3 separate regions of the Homo sapiens genome follow, and all the other regions are linked to region 1. The links are contacts of gene promoters, found by promoter capture Hi-C in blood cells and fetal thymus (Javierre and others, 2016). All regions are on one chromosome and are shown on one strand. Each heading gives the region's core, a stretch centred on a gene start or on the middle of the fragment in contact. The rest is flanking DNA. Distances are from core to core; before and after follow the strand shown. Region 1 holds the start of KCTD17 (potassium channel tetramerization domain containing 17). Region 2 holds the start of MFNG (MFNG O-fucosylpeptide 3-beta-N-acetylglucosaminyltransferase). Region 3 holds the start of ELFN2 (extracellular leucine rich repeat and fibronectin type III domain containing 2).

The links. Contacts are between HindIII fragments. The CHiCAGO score rates a contact against its expected background, and 5 or more counts as called.
Region 2: the fragment with the promoter of MFNG here is called in contact with the fragment with the promoter of KCTD17 in region 1 in 1 of 17 cell types (activated CD4 T cells); the score reaches 5.3 in activated CD4 T cells.
Region 3: the fragment with the promoter of ELFN2 here is called in contact with the fragment with the promoter of KCTD17 in region 1 in 4 of 17 cell types (activated CD4 T cells, naive CD8 T cells, non-activated CD4 T cells and 1 more); the score reaches 5.9 in activated CD4 T cells.

Annotation. Positions count from the first base shown.
Region 1 is chr22:37,049,695-37,053,987 of GRCh38, forward strand. It overlaps KCTD17 (potassium channel tetramerization domain containing 17), which reads left to right and starts at 2,048. Exons shown (of 9, transcript NM_001282684.2): 1 at 2,048-2,255; 2 at 3,406-3,514. The coding sequence starts at 2,067. RefSeq lists silencers at 1,840-2,149, 2,160-2,279 and enhancers at 2,216-2,933, 2,934-3,650. The HindIII fragment of the contact is 2,809 bases long and covers 900-3,708 here.
Region 2 is chr22:37,483,971-37,488,263 of GRCh38, forward strand. It overlaps MFNG (MFNG O-fucosylpeptide 3-beta-N-acetylglucosaminyltransferase), which reads right to left and starts at 2,414. Exons shown (of 8, transcript NM_002405.4): 1 at 1,953-2,414. The coding sequence starts at 2,207. RefSeq lists enhancers at 1,299-1,358, 1,759-1,808, 2,285-2,794, 2,795-3,306, 3,307-3,816 and 2 more and a silencer at 2,379-2,508. The HindIII fragment of the contact is 3,313 bases long and covers 1-2,795 here.
Region 3 is chr22:37,425,187-37,429,479 of GRCh38, forward strand. ELFN2 (extracellular leucine rich repeat and fibronectin type III domain containing 2) reads right to left here and starts at 2,293. Exons shown (of 3, transcript NM_052906.5): 1 at 2,112-2,293. The HindIII fragment of the contact is 18,273 bases long and covers 1-4,293 here.

The sequences.
Region 1 (4,293 bases), core at 798-3,297:
TCTTGGCTCACTGCAACCTCTACCTCCCGGGTTCAAGTGATTCTCCTGCCTTAGCTTCCTGAGTAGCTGGAACTACAGGCGTGAGCCACCATGCCCGGCTAATTTTTGTATTTTTAGTAGAGAAGGGGTTTCACCATGTTGGCCAGGCTGGTCTCGAACTCCTGACCTTGTGATCTGCCTGCCTCGGCCTCCCAAAATGCTAGGATTACAGGCGTGAGCCACCGGCTGTTTTTTGGTTTTCTATCGTTTTATTTTTTTAAAATAGAGATGGGGGCCAGGCGCAGTGGCTCGCACCTGTAATCCCAGCACTTTGGGAGGCCAAAGTAGGAGGATCACTTGAGCTCAGGAGTTCAAAACCAGCCTGGCCAACGTGGTGAAACCCTATCTCTACTAAAAATACAAAAATTAGCCAGGCGTGGTGGTGCATGCCTGTCATCCCAGCTACTCAGGAGGCTGAGGCATGAGAATTGCTTGAACCCAGAAGGCAGAGGTTGCAGTGAGCTGAGATGGTGCCACTGCACTCCAGTCTGGGTGAGAGAGTGAGACTGTATCTCAAAAAAGAAAAAGAGAGAGAGAGAGAGAGAGAGAGAGAGAGAGAGAGAGATAGGGGTCTCACTATGCTGTCCAGGCTGGTCTTGAACTTCTATGCTCAAGCGAGCCTTGGCCTCCCAAAGTGCTGGGATTACAGGTGTGAGCCACCGCACCCAGCCTACGCTAGATGTTTATAGACATTTCATAACTTAATCTTCACAGCAATGCTCTGGGGTCACAACTGTTGTAAATCCCATTTGGCAAGAGAGAAAGCCAATCTCAGAGAGGAAGTTGCTCAGGACACACCTAGTGAATTTTAAGTAGCAGGATTCCAGTACACCTTTGATCCACTCCCTGCCAAGGAGAAAAGCTTTATGCAGAAAGCAGGGCATTGGGTGGTAACAGGGAAACTTCTCCCAGCACAGGGCCAGGCTGCCCAGTGTTCGGGCCAGCTGCGTGTGACATTGGATCAGTGAGAGGAGCCCCAGACCTCTCCCCCATAGGCCAGGACCAGGACTGAAACCAGTAAGGAGAGGAAGCTAAGGAGACAGCTTCCTCGTCAGCCCTTGTCCCTCCCTGGTCCCGGACCACATGAGGAACTGCTCCCTTCCCCCATCCTGAGGTCCACAGAATGACGGTTCCCCTCCGAGTTAACTGGGGAATAACTCAGAAAGCCACCCGCAGAACCAATCCCTCCTCCTTCTTAGGGAGGACGTGGAAAAACTGAGAAAGGCCAAAAGCCAGAATGGAAACTCAGTTCTCCTGACTCGGATCCAGGGCGTGCTCTACTCTTCCTCCTTAGAAGTCTTTCCCAAGGATCCCTGACATTCCATGGTCAGGGAGCAGGAAAGAGACCTTGGTGGGTACTCACTCACCAGCAATGTGAGTAGGGCGGTCACTTCGCTTCTGTGGCTTCATCTGTAAAATGGGTATAGCCCAAAATACCAGACTCACAGGGCTGCTGAGAGCTTAAATTCATAACACATATACACAAAGTGTCTGGCATACAGGTGCTCAGCCAACCTCAAGTCCAGCTATGTCGTTCTCCAAGAACTCAGGTGAGGGAAAGAACCCACTCCCACCCACCCCGCCCCCACCCCTATACACACAAAGGGCAAATGAAAAAATATGACGAAACACATGCGGGTCAATGCTATGGGGATTCCTGGAGGGGAAAGTTTCTTCCCTTATCAGCTGTTGGACGACGGAGACGGCACAAAGGAAAAACAAGAATGCTCGGACCCATGGGATGACTGCAGATTTGGGGAAGCCCTCATTCTTTTCCCAGAGGCCGGGAGTTCGACCTTCCCCATACACAGTGATTTGGCCAGAGGGCATCTTCACCACCCCAGACTGCGGGCCTGCGGGGAAGGGCGAAGCGGGGCGGGACCGGGGGCGGGAGCAGCGCGGGGCGGGACCCTACCCGCGGCCCACGCGGAGCCAGGAGGCGCGGACTACAGCTCCCGGCCTGCCCCGCGTGCGGTCCCCGCCCGCCCCCAGCGCCCGGGAGGAGGATGCAGACGCCGCGGCCGGCGATGAGGATGGAGGCCGGGGAGGCAGCGCCGCCGGCGGGGGCGGGCGGCCGCGCCGCAGGCGGCTGGGGCAAGTGGGTGCGGCTCAACGTGGGGGGCACGGTGTTCCTGACCACCCGGCAGACGCTGTGCCGCGAGCAGAAGTCCTTCCTCAGCCGCCTGTGCCAGGGGGAAGAGCTGCAGTCGGACCGGGTGAGGCCCCCGGGGTGGGCGGCGAGCGGGCGGTGGGTCCTCCGCTCGCCCGACGCGGGGCTGTCGGGCCTGGCTCGCCCGCCAGGCTGGGGACCCGGCCGGGTTCATTTCCGAGGAACTGGAGGCGGGAAGAAGCGGCAGGAGGAGGGGAGGGGGAGGTGGGTCTGGTAGTGAGGGATGTACCCATTGCCGTGGCAACGGGACGACGCAGGCCGCGGCCATTAGAAGCTCTCCAGCCGCCCCGGATCGGGGCCTCTCCTTCTCCTTTGGGGCTGTGGACAGGGAGAGACCTGGGACCTTTCCTCCCTCCCAAAGGGGACTCCTGCTCTGGGGAAGGAGTCGACGAGGCTACTTCTCCCGCTCTTTGGGATGTGGGTGGCGGAGGGGTGCAGGGAGCTAGCTGGATGGAGGAGCCCTGGGGCGCCTTCTGAGCGGGCTGAATCTAGAAGGAGCGTTGGCCCAGCGGGCACTATTTCTGAGCACCCACCCTGACTCTGCTGCACACTGCCTGCCGCGACCTTGAGTCGGACCCTTCCCTGCACTGCGCTCAGCCTCCTTCCTCATCTGTAACACGAAGGGCTGGTCTGAAGATGACCTCTAAGGTCTCCTGTCCCCCATCCGTGACCCTCCGATGCTGTGGCCTTTGGCAAGTCGCCTCACCTCTCAATGTCTCCGATCTCTCTGTAGAGTCGCATGGAAGCCCACCCTGCCTCCCTGCCCGCCCGAGTGTCCAGTGAGATAGTGACTCCTTTGGAAACTTGTAAACATCCCCTGAAAGCCTAGGGACCTGGGGGCGACAGTGGGGCTGGCTTCAGGGGACAGCCTCTCAGAGGGACATTCTTCGAGCCCTGTGCTGGGCCAGTTGCCACTCAGACATCCTCTCACCGGATGCTCACAGCAAACCCTGATTAGGGGGAGAGGAGTGAGTTTCAAAGAGGCCAAATCATTAGCCTAAGGTCACACATTCAGGAAGAGTCAGAAGCAGGGCTTGAACTCAGGTCCATCTGACCCCAGTGCCTTTTTGCTACTTTGTGCCTGCTCCATCCAGGGAAGAGCTCTCCCTCCACTCTCCTTCCCTCCCTGTGCGTGTGCGGGGTTGGCTGGGGAGAAGCCTCACTCTTCTCTCACCGAGCATCCCTCACCTCCATAGGATGAGACCGGGGCCTACCTCATTGACCGTGACCCCACCTACTTCGGGCCCATCCTGAACTTCCTCCGGCATGGCAAGCTGGTGCTGGACAAGGACATGGCTGAGGAGGGTGAGTTGGTCCAGGGGGCTGGCCTGGACCTTATGCAGCCTGCCAGGGCCCTCTGTGGAGGCCCCAAGCCATTTGGACAACCAGGACGGCCATCTGCCTGCTTGGTTGTTTCCTGCCTCTTCCCAGTCGGACGGGGCTGATTCCCAAGCATCTGCCTGTGCCGAGCCTGGGGCTCTGCCAAGCGGACGGGCTCAAGCTTTCCCTGGGTACTGTCAGGGAGGTGAAGAGACACATGTGCAGGGGATAGAGGAAGTCAGCGAGGCCCTGTGGCCTCTGCTGTGGGCTGTGACGCCCTTTCTCTCTGGCCTCCTAGGAAGCCAGGTGTGGACGGTCACATCCGGAGGCTGGGGTGACAGGAATGCAGTGTTGACAGGCATGGGGAGAGCTCTGTCTCTCTTTCTCTGGCTGATCCAGTATCTCAAATTCTGCCTGGTGAGGGCTTGTAAGTGGGTGGAGCGGGTGACTGTTCACTAAGTCTGGCAGCCTGTGCGGCACAGTGCTGGCTGTGGGTGGAGGCAGGAGAGGGGGGAGTCTGCTTCCCAGTGGGGCTTTGGTTATCCCCAGGCCTAGGTGGCCGAGGCCCTGGATATGCCCATATCCGGGCCTAACAAACAGTGGGGAGGCCATGTCTGGGAGAACGACCTGTTAGCAGAGCTGCAGCCAGGGGCAAGGACTACAGTCAGTGCCAAGTTAACTCTTCTTTGGGACACAGGGTGTGGCTCTGGGTCAGCTGATCCAGCCAGACCAGCTTGAATATGTCACTTCTCCTCACTGCGTCT
Region 2 (4,293 bases), core at 1,164-3,663, 430 kb after region 1:
GGAGGGGACCTGACAATGGTGAAAACTTCACAGGCAGCCGCGGGAAACAAAGGGACACGCAGCCTGCTGGGGCAGGGGAGGGGTGGCCGGGGACCATCTGCTGCAGAGGAGGGGAGTGGTGGGGCTGCTGCCACCTCTCCCCCCAACAAGGGGACCATAGGGAGGAGAAAGGCTCGCCTTGAGCACAAAACCCGCCTCCCCCAGCCCACCCCCTCAGCCCAGGACAAAGGCCGGCACACGAGTCCCGGCCCCTGCCGCAAGGCCCACCTGCCACCCGACCGCCCTTAACCAGCCAGGCGGGCGCCCAGCGCTGCAGTTAACCAGCTCAGGCCCGGTCCAGACACTCCTGCCCCGTGCAGATGGGGAAACTGCGGGCCGAAAGGGGAGGGCCTTGGCTGAGGTCACAGAGAGAAGTGAGCCAAAGGGTGAGAGACGTGGGGTAGCGACTCCTGTAGCCCAGTGACCCAGTCCTCACAGGGTTCCCAAGTCTCAGCAGGGGAGAAAAGCACCCAACCAGGAGCAAGGTTCTAGGTCCCACTGGGCTCTGTCCCCTCAGGCCTTCTGCGTGACACCACGCCAGCCAGCACTTCCTCTCTCTGGCCTCAGTTTCCTCATCCGGGGCAAGGGCACCACCGCGGTGATGGAGATAAGACAGGAAAGGGCCGTGGGCCACGTGAGGCCACGCTCCCGGGTACACAGACGCATAAACAGGAAGGCCTGCGGGAGGGCCCGCCTTGGCTGCTTCCGCAGGAAGAACCAGGATCTCCCCAAGATGAGAAGCCGTGTGGGGCCCAGAGAAGAGCTGAGGTGCTGGGGGCCAGCTGGGGAAGAGTTAATCCCAAGTACGAGGGCAGAAATCAGGGCAGGGTGCCCCTCCCCAGGAGGGCCTGGCCTCTGCCAGCCATCCTCTCCCCCTCCTTTTGGTCTTCCAGGAGGTCTCGACTATCTCCAAAGACTCAGTCACTTCCTCCCACTGAGCCAGCCGCCAAAGAGGGGACCGATGTGTGTGTGTGTGTGTGTGTGTGTGTACCCATTCTCCACCTCCCCCATCAACGGTCCCTAACACCGACATCACTAACTTTGCTTAAGGAAGATACTGGATGCGAGGAGGGAAAGGGCTGGAAGGGACTTGGCTCGCCGGAGCCGCACAGCCATGTGACAGACATGCCTCTTGTCACACACATCTAGCACACTCCAGCTCCGTGCGTGTGAGCACACACACACACACACACACAATCCCACGTGCCAGGCAGGCCTCCCCAACCTCCGGCCCACCACTGCCTCAGCCGCCACCCTCGTGGCATGCGCTCTCCTTCCCTCCCTCGGAAGCAGTCCGCAGGAAGCCAACACAGGAGGCCAGACATGGCGGCCTCGGCACACCCGGGGCAGCAGAGACACAGCGGCAGGGGCTATCGGGAAGGCCGAAGGGATGCCTCCCCCAAGAACAGACCCCACCATTCTCCTCCCGTCCTCCACCCTCAGAGCCCGGGCAGGACAGCACCTAGGGCCTGGGTGGGACAGCCTGGCCTGGGCACGGGTCTGGGTCAGGACCTCTTGGAGGCCTCCACCCCAGCTGCCCAACACCCACCATTACCCCTGATGCCAGGCTGGGCCTGGGTGGCTAGGAGCGAAGCCCCCACGGGAGCGGCTAGGAATAGAAGAACCCCCAGGAGGGACCCGGGAGCCTGGAGCAGGGGCCCAGCCTGGCCCCCAAAAGTGGTGGAGCGGTAGGACCTGGGTGCACCTGGAGTCAGGACCAGTACAGGGCACGGGCAGGGCCGCAGGCAGCCCCTAAAGCCCGGAAGAAGGAGAGAGGAAGAGGATCCCTGATTAGGCAGGTATTGAGCAGCTTCTCCCATGAGGCAGTCAGGGACCCCAGCCCAGTAGAAAGGCCTCTGAGAACCCCTTAGGCCAGGGGCCACCCCCAGGGCCCAATGTCACCCACTTGTCACCTGTTCCCTGGTCCTGGAAACCCACGTGTCAAGCAGCAGCTCCAGGCGCAAGCGGTGGAAAGCCCGGGTCGTCTTCACTGCAATGAAGACATCGTGTAGCTGTAGCTTAGGGGGCCCCGGGTTCGGCTGGCTCAGCTCGGGGGTCCCTTGTACCCGCTGCGGGGACAGGTTCAAGTGGTACCGCAGACACAGGAGCCCCATGCACAGGAGGGTGAGGAGGGCTCCAGCCAGGCCCCGCGGGAGCCGGCACTGCATTGGTTGGCCCTGGGACCCCAGACAGCTCAGCCCCCAAATCCCAACCAGACAGGGAGGGGAAGCTGGTCAGGCAGGGGCTCCAGCAGAGGCAAAAGTCTGGCAGGCATCAGGGGCTGGCAAGGAGGGAAGAGGTAGGAGCTGAGGCTCTGGACCCAGAGGCTGAGCCATGGCAGCACGATCTCGACCGCCGCCAGTCCTCCACCTGCTCCCGCTGTCCGGCCTGCCGCAGCCTCCGGGACCGCCTGGCCCCGCCCCGCTTAGCCCGAGGGGCGGGGCCAGACGAAGGGAACCCCAGACAGAGGCGGCTGAAAGGAGGCACCAGCAGAAAGGGCAGCCCCGGCTCTGCCAGCTGCTGCGGTGGGAGGAAGTCACAACAAACCCTCCGTGCCCGGTGGAAGGGAGTGTCCTCCAGCACCGTCCACTCCCCCAGAGAGCTGTCAGCTCGGCCCATTCAACACCCATTACTTTGGTGTCCTGCTTCACCCAGCCCCCAGCTTTTGCTCACAGGTTTCCTCCGGGATGCTCTCCCATATTCCACCAGCCTCACCCACATTCCCTCCACTAGGCTGAGTTCTATCTGGACTTCAAAGCTTAAGGGTTCCCTCCTCCAGGAAGCCTTCCGTGATAACCTCTTAACCTCTGGGGCTCCCACAGTTGTTCGCTCAGTTCCTGAGGTCTTCACAACAGCACTGGGACTGTCGTTCCCAGTTTATAGCTGAAGACATAAGGCACAAAGGCACAGAATGAGCAAAAACGATCCAGCAACTCAGCCGCAGAGCTGGCAGAACCCAGGTCTCTGTTCCTCATCTAGTTCACAGGAGGTCCCCTGAGGGCACCTGTCCAGCTGTGCCCCAGCCCATACCCGACCTCACTCCGCAGTCTCTGGAGCTGCCTCTCTCCCAGCACCTGACCAGTGGACAGACAGAGGGCCTTCTCCAGCCACCACCTCCATCTTGTTTCGCACAAGCTCACTCACACCTCCTCCCTCCTCCACTCAGAGCCTGCACTGGCTCCCATTTTCTTCAGAACAAAAGCCAAAACGCACACAGCAGCCCACAAGGCCCTGCGTGAGCTGGCTCCCAAGTTACTCCCACCCCATCTCCTGCTACTCACCCTGCTCCACTCCAGAACCTGGGACCCTCGCTGGCCCAGGCACCTGGCCGCCACAGGACCTTGGCACTTGCTGTTCCCACCTGGGCCCCTCCCTAGAGACCTGCACGTCTCACTCCCCCACTCCCTTCTGGTCTTTACACAAAGGTCACCGTCTCTGTGAGGCCTTCCCTGACCACGTTATTAACATTGCAACCCCTCGCCGCCTCCTTCCCAGCCCCCCAGGCCTGTCCCTCTCAAGCCACTTCACTGTTTTCTTCATCACACTTTTCATCTTCCAACATTCTGTATGTTTAACTAAGTTTCTGTCCTCCTCATGAGAATATCAGGGCAGGATTTATTTTTTGATCACTGAGTCCCTAATCCCCAGTGCCTAGAACAGTGACCGGCAGACAAGAACTCAATCAATGTTAATTCAACACAACAAAGTACCAGGTGGCTGGCAAAGGGAAGTGGCCCTGCCGGGCTCAACCCTGCATGAGGACAGCTGGGGGAGAGGAAGGGAAAACCAACCCTTTGAATGACCTTCTCATGGGCCAGCCCCCAGCCAGGCCCCTTCACAGGCCATATTCTCAGAATGGTGATGATGCCAGCCTTGGTGATGATCCCAGACTCTGTACCCCACAGACCAGGTTTAAATCCTGACTGGGGGCTGGGCGCCATGGCTCACGCCTGTACTCCCAGCACTTTGGGAGGCCAAGGCAGGCAGATCACTTGAGGTCAGGAGTTCAAGACCAGCCTGGCCAACATGGTGAAACCCCGTCTCTACCAAAAATACAAAAATTAGCTAGGCATTGTGGCAGGCACCTGTAATCCCAGCTACTAGGGAGGCTGAGGCAGGAGAATCACTTGAACCCGGGAGGCAGAGGTTGCAGTGAGCCGAGATGGCGCCATTGCACTCCAGCCTAGGCAACAAGAGTGAAACTCCATCTCAAAAAAAAAAATTCCCAACTGGGCCACTCACTGGCTGTATGAC
Region 3 (4,293 bases), core at 1,043-3,542, 380 kb after region 1:
CTGGCTGGGATGAAGAGGAAAACAGGGACTGGGGAGGTCAGATAGGGGGCTGCAGCACATTGGAGGCCTCCAGGCCCACCTGGCAAAGGAGTTCAGCAGCCAATGGTGCTGATGTGAGAACCTCCTTCGGGGGTTCCAGTCCTGGAAGGTGCACTCTTCAGGGGGCAGGACTTAAGGAAAGGGGTCCCATGCCCACTCAGGATGCTGGGAAAGGCGGCCTCTTGGGAGGGACCACGCCACGCGTCCTAAGGCTCCATCCCTCTCCCCTTCCCACCCCTCATATACAAGAGACATAACCACACTCGGCCACACACACTCCCGTGACATCACATTTACACACTCTGGCTGGGGGGAGCAACCTCCGACAAAACTGTCCCAGTGACGTCACCTGCGGCCTGGAGCTTATGTCACACCTGAGGTTCTCACTGACCTCACATACATACTTTTTCCTGATGTCCCCACAATTAACACTCTTTCTTCCTGCCTAGGCGTTGATGGCCCAGAGGTACCCACCTCCCCACCCACACAGTTGCAGGGCCCCCGGCTCATCAGGACAGCACCTGCCTGTGCACCCCTCTCAGGGGACACACATGCCCACATGCTTTGCTGATGGCCCAGACGTGACACGTCCCACAGGTGTCCACGGGCCACGAGAACAGGGGTGTCAGCCATGCACATACACATACACACACACACACACACACACACACACTCCCAGTCCCATCTCATGATGCAACTTGCATATTAAAACGCCTCTCGGTAACCGCGCCGGGCAGTCCGCGCCCCACAGCTTCCACCACATTCCTCCAGGTGCTGCCAGCACCCCACTCCCTCCAGCTTTCTGACTCCGACAGCCTGGCCTGCTGATAGCGACAGCCGCAGCCCAGACACACACACACACTCCAGCCCAACACCTGCGTCTCAGCAAGGGACCAAGGCAGTGCCCTCCAGCCGCAGCTGCTGGGTGGGAGGAGTCCAGGGGGAAGGGGCACAGCACAGAGCCCTGAGCTGCAGAAAGTGCCGAGTACCACGTTCCTCCCCAGCTGAGTGCACGGTCAGCACCACTGTCCCCTTCTCGTCTCCCTCCTTGGGCACGCCTGACACACCATGGCCTGTGGCCTCTGTTTTGGACACAAGCTCCCCGAGTGTGCATGCACACGCGCGCGCGCGCACACACACACACACACATCAGCTCCCTTCCCTCCAAACATTCCGAGGAAATCCTGCCAGGCCACTGACAGTGTGCGTGTGTGCGCTTGTGTGTATACAGACAGAGAGCAGGGTCCACCCCATGTCCACACACACACGCACACACCACACACACACAGCACGCACAATCCTCTCCACATGCACACGGCGCCCCACCAGCCAACACACCCACCCCCTCCCCGTCCCCTGACAGCTGCTGGAGCCCACACACGCACGCACACACACACACTGGCACGCGCTCGCACACACACACAAACACACACACACACACACACCCGGCAGTGGCCCCGGCCCTGCCAGAGCTGCAGTGTCTGCGATTTATGCCGCCTCCCTGGGCTGCCTCCCTCCTTGTCCCTGGCCAGCGCCTCTGAAAGGGTCCCCACCCCCCAATTCTGGTCTTACCAACCCCACCGCCGTCAAGCCCCACCCTGGCCCCCCTTCCCCTAGAAGGCATCCACCCCGTCAACCCCTCTTACCAGCTAGAGGATGAATGCCTTGACCCGGCAGCACCCCGTGAAAGAGAGGGGTTAGGGCCCCCGATTCGAAAAGATGAGGGCAGAGAGGTGCAGTGTGGCACCGGCTGGCACACCGTCCACCATCGAGCCTCTGCACCACCCCCAGAAACGCTCACCTCACCGACCGTCCTCGGTGTCCTCCCACCGCCTCCGCCCACCGCCACCACCACCACCTCCCTCGCGCAGGGTGGTCCCCCGGGGGTCTCACGGGGATCCCCAGACCCAGGAGACACTGGGGGTGGCTCTCCCCGTCTCATCCCCCCTTCCGTGTCCCTCTCCAAGCCCCACCCCCACTGACGGAGGGGGTGCCCTCCGGCTCCAGCCCCGACTCCCACCGTCTCCCCGGTCGGTCGGTCGCGGCGCTCGGATCCAGAGGAATTCACTTACCCCAGCCCCAGCCGGGATCCGGGCCAAGCACCGCCTCCGGGAAGCGGCGGCCGCGGGGCCTGCGCGTGTGAGTGTGAGTGTGAATGTGAGTGTGAGCGCGGGTGTGGGTGCGGGGTGCGTGGCCGTGGGGTGGCCCGCGTGTGTCTGTGTGTGTGTCTGGGAGCGCGCGTGTGCGCGCAGACGCCGCCGCCCCCTCCTCCCCGCCGCCGCGCCTCTGCCCCTGCCTCGGCGGGGAGGGCGCCCGGGAGGGGCCAAGCGGCGCGCGTCAGGGACCGCGGCAGGCTGTGTCCGTCTGTCCGTCCCCGTCTGTCCGTCCGCCAGCCCGCCCGCTCCCGGTGCCCTCCGCAGGCCTTTCCGCAGCAAGCCCGCTCCCGCCCCCGAGCCGGCCGCACGCTCCACGGACACACGCGCGCTCGCAGACACACGCCCGCGGGGCTGGGGCCGCGCCTGGCGCCGCCGCTGCAGCTGCAGCGCCCGGGGAGGCGAAGGCGGCCCCACGGACCCGAGCCCCGGCCTGGCGGACCCCTGTCCCGGCCGCGGCCCCCTGCGCTGCTCACCCCGCGGGATCCGGGTCCGGGTCCGGGTCCGGCCTCCGCCAGCGCATTCAACAGCTGGGGGCAAACTTGCGGCGGGGCCGCCCGAAGTGCGCCTGGACTCGCCCTCCCCCTGGACTCCGCCTCCGCTGATGGGCCCCCTCTCCGCCTTGTACCTCCATGCCCTGCCGCCTGCGCCCTGCTGGTTGGTCCCGCGTTCAACCGCTGGCGACTGGGGAAGTGCGGCTGCTGCGTTCCCATTTTACAGGCCAGACAACTGAGGTTCGGAGAGGAGTGATTCCCCCAAGGTTACACAGGGAGCCTACAGACAGTATTAGACTTTACGCTCCCCTACCTTGTGCCAGGGCACTCACTGCCTTTCCCCACCCCTCCAGGAGTAGGTCCAAGGGATACTGGGCTCATCTGTAGCTAGAGAACCTTCATTAGCCTTCCAGAGGCCCAGTTCCCCGCCCCTTACGCCAAAGCCCCTGCCACCTGCTGCCACCTGCAAAGGGGTGGATGCTGGGAGGAGGAGGAGGAGGTGGAAGATGCAAGAAGCCTGGCACCCGGGGCCTATAACTTGGTGCTTGGGCATGCAAGCACCTCCTCCCGAGGCCCTGCGAGCTGCATGTCGGAGGCCTGCTGCCAGCAGGCCCTGTACTTCTCCATCACTTTTATAGGACCGCATGCACCAGCGCCTGTTCTCAGGTGTTGCACAGCAGATGAAGTCCAGGCTGCGGGAACTCCCCGTCGGGACATCTCATGCAGGTCTGGAATAAGGAGACTCCCCAGAAGAAGCCACTGCCTGAGCTGAATCTTGATGGATGAGTAGGAGTTGGCCAGCTAAAGAAGGAGGAGAAGGGTGTCCTGGACTCTGGGAACAGCATGTGCAAAGAGGCACAGAGGCATGAAACAGCTTTGTATGTGTGTACAGGGAACTCCACGGAGTTGGGTATTAGTAGAGCAGAAAGAACGTCTGTCCAGAAATTCCTCCCTCCTTTCAACTAAGAACAGGGAACGGCCCAGGATGGGGCTGGGAGGGCAGACAAGCACTGGGTCACAGGCCACTTGTTGTCCTGGGGTATGCAGAAGGACTATTGGGCGTTCCCCACCTGCACCCCAGGCTGCCTGGCACACTCCTACCCATCCTTCAAGGTCCCTCGCTGCAAACCCAAACAAGCCATGTGCTGTCTCTGCCCTCTAAACTGAGCCCTCCTACAGGGCAGGGGCGGTATCCAACACATGGTGTGTATCCCTGACAAGGCTGGGCAAGAAGCAGGGTCCCAGCTCCAAGACCTTGCTGGAAGAGCCCCTCAGGCGGAACATAACGGCCTCTGCGCCCTCTGGCGGATCCCTCGAGAAATTAGAGTGCTCCCCAAGCCAACAGCCCCCCTGTGGCTCTCAGGCCCAGACACTTTCTGAGATGGGCACTGGCAGATGCCACCTAATCCGCTCCTGCCCAAGAAACTGAGCAGTGATGACCCCAAAGAATACCAGGGAGTCAGTGGCAAAACAGCCTCTTGCTGCTCTGTTTCCGAGACATTCCCAGTCATCTTCCAGAGTGCAAGTCACAACCCTCTCTGAGCCTGTTTCCTCCTTTGTGAAAGAAATATAGCAAAAGCAGCCAGTACCCCCAGCACAGTGCCGGC